2 separate regions of the Homo sapiens genome follow, and region 2 is linked to region 1. The links are contacts of gene promoters, found by promoter capture Hi-C in human tissues and cell types (Jung and others, 2019). All regions are on one chromosome and are shown on one strand. The core of a region is centred on a gene start or on the middle of the fragment in contact, and the rest is flanking DNA. Distances in the headings are between cores, read along the strand shown. Region 1 holds the start of HTT (huntingtin). Region 2 overlaps RGS12 (regulator of G protein signaling 12).

What was found. The method cuts DNA at HindIII sites, captures the fragments that hold promoters and counts their contacts. A contact is called where the count stands out against the background at its distance.
Region 2: a fragment that was not itself captured here is called in contact with the fragment with the promoter of HTT in region 1 in 1 of the 25 tissues and cell types used here (dorsolateral prefrontal cortex).

What each region holds. Positions count from the first base shown.
Region 1 is chr4:3,072,188-3,077,164 of GRCh38, reverse strand. It overlaps HTT (huntingtin), which reads right to left and starts at 2,484. Exons shown (of 67, transcript NM_001388492.1): 1 at 2,077-2,484. The coding sequence starts at 2,339. It also overlaps HTT-AS. RefSeq lists enhancers at 1,589-1,638, 1,649-1,878 and silencers at 2,039-2,108, 2,219-2,658, 2,809-3,428. The HindIII fragment of the contact is 13,196 bases long and covers 1-4,977 here.
Region 2 is chr4:3,348,478-3,353,382 of GRCh38, reverse strand. All of the region lies in intron 3 of RGS12 (regulator of G protein signaling 12), which reads right to left. Among named protein-coding and RNA genes, the nearest start is that of RGS12, 58 kb to the right of the region's middle. The HindIII fragment of the contact is 4,811 bases long and covers 28-4,838 here.

The DNA of each region.
Region 1 (4,977 bases), core at 1,235-3,734:
GCTCTGTCACCCAGGCTGGAGTGCAGTGGCGTGATCTCAACTCACTGCAGACTCTGCCTCCCGGGTTCAAGCGATTTTCCTGCCTCAGCCTCCCAGGTAGCTTGGATTACAGGCACGTGCCACCATGACCAGCTAATTTTTGTATTTTTAGTAGAGACAGGGTTTCACCATGTTAGCCAGGCTGGTCTCAAACTCCTGACCTCAGGTGATTCGTCCACCTAGGCCTCCCAAAGTGCTCGGATTAAAGGTGTAAGCCACCTTGCCAGTCCTGATTAAATTTTTTAAATAAGGTAATCATATATTACCTTAAAGTAATGAAACAAAATCTATCTCCTTTGTCAAGGCAGCAAAGGAAATTTCTTGATACCCATATTTTGAAGATAAGCAAATGCAGGTTCTGTCAAATCAGCATAAGAAAGAGAAGGCATATTTTTAGAATGATCAAGTGTCTGAAGCAGCCCAGCAGAAAGGTCTTCCTTCCCATCAGGAGCCCTGTTTAGTGTTTACACAAGATACATGCAATGTGTGAACTTTTATGACACCTACCTCCTAGAAAAGCACTACAGTAAATTTCTGGATGAGAAATTACTTACTGAAGAGATAAGCCAAATTGTTTTAAAATTTCTCCAAATATCCAAAAAGTTTTTCCATCCTTTAGAATAATTTATTCCTAAATTTTATTCCAACAAATAAGCTAACACTGCTCTCCGAATCATTTTCTAATTAAACTTTGAAGACGAGACAAGGATCATAACAGAAACAAAGAACAAGAAATATTACTAAAAATTAATCAGTCTTAACAGAGATATTCTTACCAAATGCCATCTGGGACACATCCAGATCGGAAATAGAATACTGAGAGGTAAGAGAAAGGCCTGAACTGCACCAGAGTACTTCCTAACTCCTACTGTACACTCGACACACAGACTTCCAGGGAAAGTCCTGGGGTTCCGCTAGATGTTTTAATGGTCTCTCTTTTCCTGTTTCAAAAATTCTCCCCAAGAACAAGCAACAGAAACCCCTAGCTTCCAAAAAGTAACAAGCTGTCAGCAATGAAGCAAACAGAAACCCTTTCACTGGCACATCTGAGATGCCCACGGAGTCTGCGGACCCCCCGTATTCTGGCAAGCCTGACTGGAATACTGGTAAAATGTACACCTCATTCATCCCTCGGCAATTAACCTCCCCATCAGCAACGTGTTGGTTTTATTCCCAACACACATAGGCAAAAAACTTCAATCAACTCTTCCTAATATTTAAGATAATTTCATTAATCACCACGTAAGTTCACCACTTTACTTGGCAACCACAACTCATTCAAACGCCTGCAGACCAACTTAGGCTTAGATGAGCAGATCTCTTAGGTGGTGCTTAAAATCGTGTTACTACCACCGTGATCATGAACTAAATGAAATGTCCTGACAATGTAGGAAGAGCCTCAAATCTCAGGCTGTTTTAAGTGCCACTAGGAAAAGAAATCTCCCATTGGACGCGCCCTCACTCCCCGCCCCCCCCCTGCCCCGCCACTCCCGCCGAGGCGTCCTAAAAGCATTATGTCATCCACTGCCCCCACATCTCTCCAGCTCCAAACCCCGCCTCCTCTCGAAGTGTCCCGCGCCCCCAGCCCTCTTCCCTCTCAGACTAGAAGAGGGAAGTGGCACTGAGCAAATCTCGGCTCCTCCAAGTTCTCTTCACAACGCAGTTAAAAGAACCCCCGCCCTGGTTTCTCGCAAATAAAAAGAAACAAGTTCTCGCCCCAACTCTTCGCATCCTGCGAAGGGCGAGAGGGCTGAGGCCGTGACTCCCCTCGGTGAATTCAGGACAGGCCCCAACAAGGCTCTGCCTCCCCTCGCGAGAGGACAAGGGAAGACCCAAGTGAGGGAGCGGGGCTGAAGTGGGGGAAGGCCTCGCCCCAGGAGGGGGCGGGTGTCCCTCATGGGCTCTGGGTTGCTGGGTCACTCTGTCTCTGCGGGGCCGGGGGTTCGTGTCGCCGGCCCGCAGGCTGCAGGGTTACCGCCATCCCCGCCGTAGCCTGGGACCCGCCGGGACAGGGAGCTGCAGCGGGCCCAAACTCACGGTCGGTGCAGCGGCTCCTCAGCCACAGCCGGGCCGGGTGGCGGCGGGGGCGGCGGCGGGGGCGGCTGCGGCTGAGGCAGCAGCGGCTGTGCCTGCGGCGGCGGCTGAGGAAGCTGAGGAGGCGGCGGCGGCGGCGGCGGCGGTGGCGGCTGTTGCTGCTGCTGCTGCTGCTGCTGCTGCTGCTGCTGCTGCTGCTGCTGCTGCTGCTGCTGGAAGGACTTGAGGGACTCGAAGGCCTTCATCAGCTTTTCCAGGGTCGCCATGGCGGTCTCCCGCCCGGCACGGCAGTCCCCGGAGGCCTCGGGCCGACTCGCGGCGCCGCTCAGCACCGGGGCAATGAATGGGGCTCTGGGCCGCAGGTAAAAGCAGAACCTGAGCGGCCGTCCATCTTGGACCCGTCCCGGCAGCCCCCACGGCGCCTTGCGTCCCAGACGCTGCGCCGGCGGAGGCGGGGCCGCGCCGGCGGAGGCGGGGCCACGCCGGCCAGCATGATTGACAGCCCTAGCCTGCGGACTCTGCCAATGGCTGGCCAGGGAACCAGCCCGCCCCTGCCCCCGCAGGTTCTGCCTCACACAGCAAGGCCGCTGACAGCGCAGCGCCCCACCCGGGCGAAGGCGCGGGGCTCAACGGAGAGGGGACGGGGCGTGGTGAGACTGTAATGGGGTGAGGCGAAGCTGTGTGTGAAGTGTCGCGGCGAGGCGGGACGAGGAAGGGACGGGGCGGGACTGCATGGTAAGGGAGGCGTGGCGATGCGGGGGGCGTGGCGATGCGGGGGGCGTGGTGAGGTAGGGGCGTGGCGAGGCCGGGGCGGGGCACAGCAGGGAGGCCGCCTGAGGGGCGGGGCGAGACGGGGGCGGGGCGGGGCGATGCTGGGGACGGGGACATTAGGCAGGCCGGCTGAGGGGCGGGGCGGCTGAGGGGCGGAGCGGGATAGGGGAGGGGACTGGCCGGTGAGGGGTGGGGAGGCTGGGGGCGGGGCAGGAAGGTGAGAGGTGGGGCGAGGGAGGGGTGGGGCGCGGAGGGGCAGGGCCATGGAGGGGCTCGCCCATGAAGGACGGGGCCATGGACGGGGCGGGGCCGTGGAGGGGGCGCCGAGCGCGGGCGCAGGCCCATGCGGAAAGGATCCCCCGCCGACGCCTGGAGCGGGGCGACAGCCGGCCGTGGACTCTGAGCCGAGGTGGCCTTGGGGTTTGCCCTCCCGCCACACTGGCCCGTGGCCAGAGCCATACTCACCCGGACAGCCCTGCGGGGAGCCAGCTGCGGGGCTCTCTGCACGGGGAGAGGGTGGGCGAGCTCCTGCGCAGAGCGCAGAGAATGCGCGTGGTCGGCACGACCTGAGGACCCCAAGTGTGACCCCCACCCCACCCCCAGTGAGCTGGAGAGGCCCCTGCAGGGCGGTGTCCACAGGCCTGGCGCCCCCCATCGGTCCCAGCGCAGCGCCCCGGAAGGGAGGAGAGGGTCTGGGGCAGGCCTGGGTGGTCAGCGCCTGCTGCCCACAGAGGCACTGTGATTAGTGCAGCGAGAAGCAGCTATGGCCACAAGATGCCGCCCACAGGAATGAGTCCCGACCTGGGGGCGTTTCTTTATGGGAGTGCACCCCTGCTCTGACCTTCCGGCAGGACCCCCAAGGGGCGTCATTCAGCAGCAGCTCAGCAGAGGTCTGTGGGGCACCCCCTCACGCCTGGGACACAGGCCGTGGCGGGCAGGGTCCTGGTCTCCAGAGCCTCCTGCCTTTTGGGTGGTAGAGGGGCAAACGGAGAGGGCAGCTGTCCAGCCTGCCCAGCAGGGAGTAAGGTTGGCCTCAGAGACAACCGCCCAGCCGGGGGGTGATGCAGGCAGAGAGGAGCCCAGTAAAGCCTACTTTAGCCAGGCCACACCTGCAACCCAGAGTCCCCTGCTCTGTGGCCACAAACAGCACCTCCGCCTTGTCTCAGAGCCTGTCCTAAAGGGAAACCCAGCATTGTCCCCAGTGGGGTAGCAGTAGCCTCCCTTTTCTTGAGAAGGACAGCAGAGAAACAGCTGTTAGTTCCCAGTTCTTGGGAGGCTGATGTGGGAGGATCACCTGAACCCAGGAATTTGAGGCTGCAAGTGAGCTAGGATTGCACCACTGCACTCCAGCTTGGGTGATAGAGCGACACTGTCTCTAAAAAAATTAAGTTCCAGCGAGGTGCGGTGGCTCACGCCTGTAATCCCAGCACTTTGGGAGGCCAAGGCAGGCAGATCACCAGAGGTCAGGAGTTCGAGACCAGCCTGGCCAACATGGCGAAACCCTGTCTCTACTAAAAATACAAAAATTAGCCGGGTGTAGTGGTGCATGCCTGTAGTCCCAGCTATTCCGGAGGCTGAGGCAGAATTGCTTGAACCTGGGAGGTGGAGGTTGCAGTGAGCCAAGATCATGCCATTGCACTCCAGCCTGGGTGACAAGAGTGAGACTCTGTCTCAAAAATAAATAAATAAATAAAGTTCCCAGTTCTCTGCTGTTAATAAGGGCCTTTGTCCACTGTGTCAGGCCTCAAGGTTGTTAGTTACCTCAGTGGGCAGACTCATAAGATGGCCCCAGCACCCCTCACCTCCTGGTATTGACACCCTTGTATGACCCCTCCCCGTGAGCTTGGGCTGTACCTGGTGGCCTGCTTCTAACCAATGGGCAAAGGTGATGGAATGTCACCCCATGACTAGGTCGCAAAAGGGTATGACTTCAGTCTCCCTGGCCCTCTCTGTTGCCTTCTTGGCATGGATGCTCTGATGAAGTCAGCTGCCATGTTGGAGAGGCCCACATGGCGAGGACATAAAGGCGGCCTCTGGCCAACAGGCAGTGAGAACTGAGGTTCTCAGTCCAGCAGGCCATGAGGAACTGGATCCTGCCAACACCACGTGAGATTGGAAAGGGACCCTTCCCCG
Region 2 (4,905 bases), core at 1,184-3,683, 280 kb before region 1:
TGCCAGATGTGGTACCTTTGCTAGAGTACAGTAACATCCCCCCAGGACGCAGTGTGCACACACTGATCTAGGAATGCCTTCTTTTCCATTCCTATCAGAAAGATGAAACTCAGTTCACTCTCACATAGGCTAGGCAGTAGTGTACGTTTGTAGTCCTGCCCCAGGCCTCGTTAACCCTCCCACCCTCCAGCAAAGTAGTCCCAGAGGGCCTGTATGATCTGGTTCAACTCAGAACATCACAGTGGCTCATTATACCTTTAACATCAGGCTAACTGGAGCAGATGAGCAAGAAGCGGAAAGTACGCCGGAGGCCTTGGCACACCACACGCACTCTGGAGGGTGCGAGACAGAACCTAGAGAGACTCAGTGGCCTGCCCCATCGGCAAAGTTTTAGGAGTCAAACATCCCTTCCAAAGAAAGGGACAAATTATTTTAACTCACAACTCTTGTCTGTCAGACAGAAGCCAATGGCTGGTAGGCCTCTTTGGGTTTGTGAAAGTTGTCAGGTTCAAAACGGAGTCACTATGTTAAAAACCCTGATCAACAGAGCTAGGGAAGGTTGGGAAGGCAGGGTTCAAATGCCTGATAACAAGACTTATTACAAAAGACTGGAAAACTACAACCTTGCACAAAGGCCAAACAACCTTACACACATACGCAAATTACTTCTGCGAGGACATCTGCCTAGCAACTGCCTGTCCAGCCTCAGAATCATGCCACCCTTGTTATTGATCCTTGTAGCCAAGAAAAATTATCTCAAAACGATTATGTAATCATATTCATTTTTCCATTAGAAACCTTTATCTTCCACTACTTCCCTGAATATGCACATAGTTTACCATAATGTGTATCCCATCGCAATGCCTATTCCTGAATAAATACCATTTTCTTTTGGAGAGTCTCCCTCCCTATTTGTTATTTAGGATGACATAAATGGTGTCAGAAGTGGGATGTGGAGAAGGATCACCTGTGGAAAGAATCATCAATTCTTAGAACTGGTATGAGGCACTCAACTGAGCCCTTTGAGCTCTCTGCTTCCATGACTCGCCTCTTCTGCCCTTGAAAGTCTCCTCTCAAACCAAGCCTCCCATTTTTTGTTAGAAGCTCTTTTTTACTTCATTTGGGATCTGAGTTAATAAAGGACCTTAATAAAGGACCTTGCATCTGTCTCGGATGATAAAAGACCTTTTGTCTCTTCTGGCAAGCCCCTTCTGGTATAAGGACAATGTCCCTCTGGTTACTACAGAATTTATATTCTGTCTGGTTCTGCACACCCGGTTTAATGTTTTGTTTGGACTGCATGCCTGGCTTAAAATTTCTGTGAACACACTTATTTTTTGTTTTATTTTGATTTGCTTACACACATCTGTATATGATTTGGCTCTTTTTTCCCTTGCTTGATTCTGGCCATGATCTGAGAGCAAAAATAAAGATTCTAAATAATGGGTATGGGATGGCCAATTAACAAGGGCAGTCAGCACCACATAAGGCACCAGTCTAAACTCCCTGACAGGAATTATAGGATTTTCTTTGCTCTTGAGAGATTAATAAGAAATGAAATGGGATTCTTAAACATTGAGGCACACCAAGTCTTCTAGGACTCTGGCCAGCTATACTGTGGTCCGTTCTCGTGTGGTGATGGGCAAACTACATCAGGAAAAACGCAGCACTGGACAGCCATTTTCTGTCTAAGCTTGTCAAAAACTGCAACTAACTACAGGGTTAACTCTCCATCTCTTTTTTCTGCCAACTTTGAATCTGATGACTTTTCTGCCAGCATTAAGATAAACTCATTGCTTATGGAAACTAAGATTTTCTTTTAAGTGTTAAAGGGCTTTCAAACTAATGGCTTTATAAATTATGCCAAATCTATGGCAACCAACGATGCAGACACCTTTTGGAAATGTAAATTTAGGTTTGTCTAACAATTGCTTAGGGTGATGAAAAAGCTAATTGAAAAATCGATATTCTAAAAAAAAAACTTTATAAATGTTTATATAAGCTAAGGGCTGTCAGATCAAACAGGTTAAAACCTTAAGCTCAGAGCAATACTAAAAGGTATCTCTGTCTGACATAAAAATTATTTTGTCTGACACTTAAGAGCCAGAAAAAGCAAACAAACAAAAAGATTTGTTACTAATTCAAGGCAACCTGAAAATTTTGTTGTTTTTTTTTAATACAATTTAGCCAGGCCTAGCTAAAATGTAAACATTTGAATATTCAACCCTAAATTCAATTGAATCTGAAAAAAGGATTAAAAGGTTTTTAAAAGTCAAACTGCTATGAAAACTGCTTTATCCATAATTCTGGTCCACAGCCTTCATTAATTACTTATCAGGGTAAACAGAACTTAGCCACAGATAAAAGTTCCGTTTTGTCAAAAATATAATTTGATCCAACTATATTTTATAAACCAGTGAATTTGTATTACTATGTTTTTCTGTTTCATGACCAAAATTCTAAAATGAAAGCCATAAGATCTTTATTTGTGTCTGTATTTGCTTTTATGTATGTTTATACATATTGTATGTTACATCTACATGATAAAATCTGACATAGTTAGCCAGAAATCCCTTAAGAAATTCTATTTGGATTGGCTTAAACAAGCACTCATGTAAAATATATAGTAATTAACCCAAATGCTTTTTAGTTCGTGTGACTTAAATAAATCTTTTTTGTTTTTTTTGTTTTTTGTTTTTTTGAGATAGGTTATTTCTCTGTCACCCAGGCTGGGGTGCAGTGGGACAAACATGGCTCACTGTGGCTTCAACCTCCTGGGCTCCAGTGATCCTTCCACCTCAGCCTCTTGAGTAGCTGGGACTACAGGTGTGTACCATCATACCTGCCTAATTTTTTTATTTTTTGTAGAGATGGGATCTTGCCATGTTGCCCAGGCTGGTCTCAAACTCCTGGGCTCAAGCAATCCTCTTGCCTCAGCCTCCCAAAGTGCTGGGATTATAGGCATGAGCCACCACACCCAGCTGACTTAAGTAAATCTTGGATAAATAAGTTGGTTTTAAATTTGTTGATAAAATAAAAATAGAAGTGTCTTCAAAACTGTCAGCATACATTTTTGCCCAGCTTTACTGGTCAGAGAGGATTATATTTATCTCTACTAGATGTCTTAAGGTTATAAAAGTATAAATCCAGACTAAAGACACAATTATCTTTATTTGTATAACTTTTTAATGACTAAGACTAACACTGTTAGTTTAATCAAAATTGCTGTATCTTCTGTGTTATCAGCAAAATACCCCTATATTTAAGTTTCTCAGGTGAAAACCTGATACTCATAGGCTATACAAATGGTGAAAAGGGAAATAACTTGAAATGAAGACTAGCTTTTTCTATATCTCAGTTTTCATAAGTAACCTAGGTATAATTATTAAAAATAAATAAAGTACATAAACGTAGATGGGAAAGTGCTTATAGACTGTCATGTAATCTGAAATCTTAAAGTTATGCTATGTTAAATTAAATGATACTCATAAAATGTCTAAGTCATTTCCATATAAGATAAAGTACTAAAACATACATTGCTGAACACAAATGTAAGTTTGTTCTTGGCTTATTAAATTTTAGAGAAGGACTAAATATATTTTTGCCTGTTAATACACAAAGTAATTATGTAACGGGAAAACATGTTTCCAAAAATTATAAAATGGTTCTCATCTATAAAATACTGATTCCAAGGTTTTCACTAAAAATTACAGTTACTAAGAGTTAAAGTTCTTACATATATATATTTCAGTATACAAAGTATACGAAAAGTAAGGTATGTTTCTGATGAGAAAAATTATGAGAGGAATAAAAATGTGTTCTTTATTGAAAAAAAGAGTAATTTTGTCTAGTTTGGAGATTATTTAAAATTTGTTTCAAAATATGGATTTAGAAAGCAAAGAGAAAGAAACCACTAAGTAGGAGAGCGAGAGATGTGAAGAAAGTTATAGGTATGTAGATGTATCTTAGTAAGGAAGGTTAAAAACAAAAATGAATAATTTTGTATGACAAAGACTCCTGTGTGGTAAATTTTTGTCCTAAAGTAAAATGCCTGTTGTTTTAAGAAAGAGGAAGTACAGAACAAAGCAGAAAGGCTTAAGGATGTCATCGAAGGCCTATATTGGTCATAAAAGTCTGTGAAAGATAAATTTACGAAATAAATTTTATATGATTAAGTTGGTTATAATTAGAAGAAAATTATGTGTAAGTCCTTCTAAAGACCAAACTTTAATATTAAAAATACACTAATACAAAGCAAAAAACGTGGTCGCTTATGTTAGAACAACAGGGTTTTCCTGAAGTATTGATCGGCTATTAGTAAAACTGCAGGACGTTTTGATTTTTAATTCTGAAGTATGTTTATAAAACAAGCTTCTGAACTGCAGCTTTTTTCTATTTTAGTCTCCATCTAATTTCCCTCGTATGAGGTTAGAAATGCTGTCTTCATTTAGAATGGCAATTTCATTTCTCCAGGCAGGGTCTTCCTCTCCAGGTGAATCTGACAGCCTCGGCTTGGGCTTGGCCTTGCTGCGTGTGACCTGCTGGCCGCATATCACTGCCTTCCACTCTCTCCCCTTGAGAAGCTGCAGCTGCTTGCTTGGCTAGGGCAAGGACTCTTTCCTTCAACTTTTTTGTCAGCTCCTGGAACTTTTTTCTCCAGTTTTAACTGTGTTACTATGGTCTGATGCACTGTTTTCCGCCTGTATAACTCGATTCTGTACATTCGGCTTTTCTGGATGTGTCTGAATTGTTCCATGGAACCAGAAAACTTCCCATACTGTGACTTAGAGCCCTGTACTGCCCTGCTCAAGCCACTAACTGTCACATTGACATTCCTCTATAATACGGTGCGCACTCGTAATACTGGACACCCTCTTCCTATGTCTCATTAAATTCAAGTACTTT